Linked DNA regions of Homo sapiens: region 2 is linked to region 1. Evidence: promoter capture Hi-C in 16 types of primary human blood cells and fetal thymus (Javierre and others, 2016). All regions are on one chromosome and are shown on one strand. Each heading gives the region's core, a stretch centred on a gene start or on the middle of the fragment in contact. The rest is flanking DNA. Distances are from core to core; before and after follow the strand shown. Region 1 holds the start of HBS1L (HBS1 like translational GTPase). Region 2 has its middle 32 kb from the start of MYB.

Region 1 (2,799 bases), core at 148-2,647:
AACACTTAAGCCATGTAACATTAGCAACTATCTCTATTTTTCTGTAAACTTTTATTTTGGAGCCACATTAAACAACTATTTTTGTAGTCAAACACATTCAAATGCATGAATAAATTACGTTCCAAGCCACTTACAAATATAAACTAAATTTGGATTACTCTTATTTCTTTCTATTGTGCATAGCAAAAAGCTGAGGAAGCTTTTAATTATCTCTAGAACTCAACATTTGCCTTTGATGTGAAGTATCATCATTTCAAAAACACAAGCTAAAACTGAAGTGGTGTTCAGTATAATGAGGTTGGTTTCTTATATAGCATTATTAACTTTATGTTCTGAGAAATGAGGACATTTAATAGCAGGTTATAGATTCATGCATCAACAACATTCAGCATTACCACCTAAGGCCAGTGCTATGTCTAAAAAGCTATATTTAATACTCGCAATGTTACACACAATTATGTCTTCAATGAATGTTCAGTGAATCCTTCTTTATGATGCTGATAAATATCGTCTATATAGCTAAAATCGTTTACATAGCTAAGGGCAAATCGCTGTTTACTAGGGATAGTAATGCCGAACGGAGTGAATACATGAAGTCGTAAATTATATGAATGCAGGGTGACCTAATATAGCCAGGGTCTCAATTTAATAATATATACCCGTTTAAAAATAGCCTTATTTCCTTCTCTAAAGCTTGGACTCTTTTTTTTTTTGAGATAAGGTCTCACTCACTTTGTCGCCCGGGCTGGAATGGAGAGGCCCGATCTCAGCTCACTGCAGCCTCGACCGCCTGGGCTCAGGGGATCCTCCCACCTCAGCCTCTTCAGTAGCTGGGACTACAGGTCTGCACCACAGGGCCGGCTAGTGTTTGTATTTTTTGTAGAGACGGAGCCTCGCTATGTTGCTCAGGCTGGTCTCGAACACCTGAGTTCAAGCGATCCGCCCTCCTAGGCTTCCCAAAGTGCTGGGATTACAGGAAGGAGCCACCGCACCGGCCTGGGCTAAATCTGATTCCAAGTTTACACAAGTTTGTTGAATGCCCACTGTGTGCTTAATGAAAGATCAAAGTTTGATAAAACAAGGTCCCTGCTCTTACTGAGCGCATAGCTTTCTCAGATTATCAGGAACCAAATTTGGAAAATAATCCAGAACGCTGGCGTAGGTAGCTCAAGGTTCCCCGCTTGCAACATTTAGTCCAAACCAGTCAATTCTAGGCGGCGGATTTCCCCATCCCCCTCCGTCGCCCAACCTTTGGGTGGGGCCACTCCCAAACGCTCCCTCCCCTCGTCCCGCCATGCACAGCAGTGCGCATGCGCCCTCAGGGAGGCGGACAGTGACCCTGAGGCATTGCCGTCGCGCGGTGCACAGCTAAGACGTCGCGCTTGCGCAGGCGCTCGGCGCAGAGGCCTGCGGGAAGCCAAGATGGCGCATAGGGGTTCTCCAGGCTGCAGTTGGCGCCTTATCAGTATCTAAGCGGAGTGTTTTGGAAGGAGTTAAGGGGCTGTGGCAAACGCCCTCTCCGCCGTCATGGCCCGGCATCGGAATGTTCGAGGCTATAACTACGATGAAGGTAGGTGGCAGGGTCATGCCGGGACGTTCTTTTCCCGGCTACAGCTGGGATCCTAGCCCGTTGGCATCCACTTCAATCTGTGAGTTTCTCGTCAGTGTTGCCCTGTCGGGATTGGGAGAGCCCCAGTTGGGGAATATAACAGGCCTTCTAGTGCTTTCAAATGCCGTCGTTTTTAAGTCATGATTTCTGCCCTCTGGGGTTGATTTTATTTGGGGAGGGGGAGGTGCTGCATAGCGTCATATGGGTAGGATATTGGTGAGGTTGAGATCCGGTGATATTTAGGCACGTAAGCATTATCACCTCTTCCATTGTTTCCTCCCATGTTGGGCACTAACGTGCCTGCTTCTAGCTCCTCTCTCCCAGATCCCCTTTGAGAAATGTCCATGAAACGTTGCTTATTTGTAAAACACAGATTGACTTAATACATTCAACGGACGTGTACCTGTGTTAGATTTACATGGTAAACCTTTTGTGTATGTCCATACATACCTAGTGCAGAATCAGTTTGCGCTAATTTATTTTTCAACGAATTTCAAAGTGGAAACTTAGGAGACGGTAGAAAAGACACATGTTAAAAAGGCCCAAAGAATGAGTCGATCAGATGGATCTTGAAGTTTATACTTAGTTCTTGGCTGGTAATGCTTGATATAAATGTATTTTGAAATGTAAATAAACGGCAGTACTAGAGGAAAGAGTGTATAGGAAAGGACTTTTTGATATTAAAAAATGAAATAAAAATGTCTGTATGAATGTTCTGTAGGAGTTAACAGGAGTTAGAATTATTTTTAGGAGGAGCACATCCCTCTTCATGCAGTAGATAACTATAGGCATCACCAAGCATCACATAAACTAAAAATATAAACAAAAATGAACTAATGCAGGAGAAGAATAAAGAACTATGCTTTACGAAGTGCAGAACATGTAGTGCTTAATATGTTGGTGATTGTCATTGGCACCCCAGTAGATTATTATAGAACATCAGTATGCTTTAACTAGAGTGAGGGCAGCTAACACCCTGTTCTCCATTTGGAACCTGTGACCTCAGTCCGTCTAGAACATGTGAATTTTCTGGTGGTTACTTTAGAATGGAGGCCCTTTTAAATAAATATTGCAGTGGATGGTATTGCATGTGGACCATTGTCACCTAAGAAATGACTTTAGATTGAGAGAGATTTTTGCAAATATAAAGTACATGAATAGGCCTATTTATTATTCATTCATTTCTTTAA
Region 2 (2,700 bases), core at 79-2,578, 94 kb before region 1:
AAGAAAGAAAAAAGAAAGATACAACCGGGAAATCATGTGTTATTAGAGTCATAGTTCATACCTTAACATCCCACTGTAAGCACAGGATACAAAAAGTCCAGGAAGTCCTGGATAAACTTGCAGAATATCCAGTACCAAATAAGGCATGAACTGAAAAATTCCAAAATTTATTTCCAAGTACTTTTCGCTACTGAATAAAATTAATGGATGCCTAAAAAAAAAAAGAAAATAATAGGTAAGATCTTATTCTGACTAATTTATTGAAAATAGATAATAAATTTTGCATTCTTCTTACAAGTCAAAAGTCTCTTAAAAGTCAAAATCGCTTATGGCAAAGAACAGGAATAGAAGATTATAATCAGACTATAATAAGTTATAGCTATTGCATATAACTATAAAAAATAAAACTACAACTAATGTTACTTTGTCTTAACTGTCCTGGTGAAATTTTAGTCAGTTTTCCAAAGGAAGCAATTTAGATCCCTAGGATGAAGAAAACAGAGTCAAGGAACCAGTTTTAAAATATATATATTTATAGACTGTGAAACCTATACAGTTTGCTGTTCATTCAAGTAAAATAAAACATTTAATTTTAAAAACTGGTGACAGGAAAGGATTTGACCGTGATCATAGATGGTTTAGAATGATAATGTGGAGACATACTTTCTTCCTCCCAGAAACCATTTCAGTTCTTCCTCTTAGCATTTCTACGTCTTATTTGCTTATAAAGCAGAGGTTTTGGGGGTGGGGGCATGGGATTGGGGACGAATGTTCGGATGCTGGGGACCGTCTAACGGCACAAACTGAAGTCAGAGATATTGAACACAGTGTTTAAAGAGGCTGTTATTTCATCATGAGTTTTGTAACTCCATAGAAGACACTTGAGGAAATTAGTAGCTTATACTTACATGTGCATGTTTTCTATTTTCAACAGGATTTTGTAAGAGAGAAAAAACTTTTAAAAATTAAGAGCACACCACTCAGTTGATGTTATACCAGAACGATATGAGGTACCTTGAAGTCATTCAAAAATAACTCTCCCACATAAACCTGTCACCTTGCAGACACTACACTTCCTTTCTTTCATTTAAAAAATTGGCAACTTGTCCTTCTAGGTCAAGTGCTCCATGCCTCTTTCTTCTTCCTTTTTAAGCAGCTAATAGAAAAGAAGGCAGAGTACATTAATAATAGGTGGTATGAAGGATACATTTAAAGACCTGTAGGCATGCATTTGTCAGAGTACTTCGCTTAGAAGCTAAAGGAGGTGCTCTAAGAAGATGAGAGCACGTGTACCTCTTAGAGTAGTAAAGAACTGCTTTACACACACCAGAAGACTGTTTACTAGCACAGGGTATTCGTTTTGTTGTTATGATGCATGCAAATAATTTTTACTTTTCAGGTGCCTCATTCAGTCAACAACTGTTCACCAGTTCCTTCATATTTTTGTTGCTTACTAGAATTAATTTAAGATGCAAACGTAAGAGATTTTAAAACCCTGTAATGCTAATTGTTGCTTTAGGAAAATACAGTTAACTTCTGGTCTCCCTAGCAGTCAAACCCTTCAGATGTTAAGGGTTCACTATTCCCCTGGTCCCCATCTTCATTCTTTAGTGAAAGGTTTAAAAAAATGGGAGTTACTTTCTCCTTGTTTTTGTTTTTCCTTCCATAACATACATTTGGCAATTTGAACCTCTTATCTCTGTAATGTAGAGGAATTGGTTTATAAACAATTCCTGAAATTGACTTTCCTTAATTGTAAGAACAATACGACTTCATTTGAAAATGGTTTTAGCTACAGAATGTAAATACAAATACTCTCCTCATGTCTCTGTTTCCTTCACAGTTTTCCTCATGTTGTCTTCATCTTCTTCTCCCTTTTCTTCTCCTTCATCTTCTCCTCCTTCTCCTTCCTCTCTTCTTCTTTTTCTATTTTACCTATCTGTATTTGGAAGGTATGTACTGCTTTCTGAATTTGTTCTTACGCAAGGATTCTGCTTGTGTTCTTAACTTTATTGCTACCCTACTTTTTTGCTCCACTTTCAACCACTGTTAACCCAATTGACGCCTGACTCAGAAAAAATAGTCACTTTCCCTTCAATGTCATGGGAATTTATTGAGACTTTTCTATATCACGTTATGACTGTCTTGTATACTTACTCATTCATTATCATCAGTGCTAAATATTGGTGATACAGAGATAAATAGTAACAGAGATTCTTGTACTTGAGGAGACCAGTAGTCAGGGAGTTGTTGTTTATAATGAATGTTGATATATTGTGGTCAGTCCTATGCTAACAGTGTGTATCAGGGATCACAGACGAATGAGAAAGGATCACAAATGAAGGACTTCACAGAGGAGGAGATACTGGGTTGGCACTAGTAGAAGCATATGGGAGAGAAACTCAGAACATTTCCCAAAGAGGAACTAGCATGAGGGAACAATATGGAATTATAAAGTGTGTGACCCTATGGAGACAAATCAGATAAAGAAAATGAATGACCAGCTAAGAATGATGCAATGAAAAGGGGTGGAGATTGTAGAGAACTAGAGAACATGCCACATTTCAAGCAAACAGCAATTACTTAGCTTTGACTGTTTGCTGCCATGCAGGATGTGGGCCCAATGTTAGTGAATCTTCCATTTCTTTACAAAAAAAAATTAAAGTTCTTTTTTTTTTAATTAGCTATCTTCTACAGGAA

What was found. Contacts are between HindIII fragments. The CHiCAGO score rates a contact against its expected background, and 5 or more counts as called.
Region 2: a contact is called between a fragment that was not itself captured here and the fragment with the promoter of HBS1L in region 1, in 3 of 17 cell types (activated CD4 T cells, erythroblasts and non-activated CD4 T cells). The highest score is 8.7, in activated CD4 T cells.

The regions. Positions count from the first base shown.
Region 1 is chr6:135,053,420-135,056,218 of GRCh38, reverse strand. It overlaps HBS1L (HBS1 like translational GTPase), which reads left to right and starts at 1,397. Exons shown (of 18, transcript NM_006620.4): 1 at 1,397-1,570. The coding sequence starts at 1,528. LOC124901405 (a long non-coding RNA gene) reads right to left here and starts at 1,326. Exons shown (of 2, transcript XR_007059775.1): 1 at 733-1,326. RefSeq lists an enhancer at 1,189-1,238. The HindIII fragment of the contact is 2,164 bases long and covers 696-2,799 here.
Region 2 is chr6:135,147,650-135,150,349 of GRCh38, reverse strand. No RefSeq gene overlaps it. Among named protein-coding and RNA genes, the nearest start is that of MYB, 32 kb to the left of the region's middle. The HindIII fragment of the contact is 7,399 bases long and covers 1-2,700 here.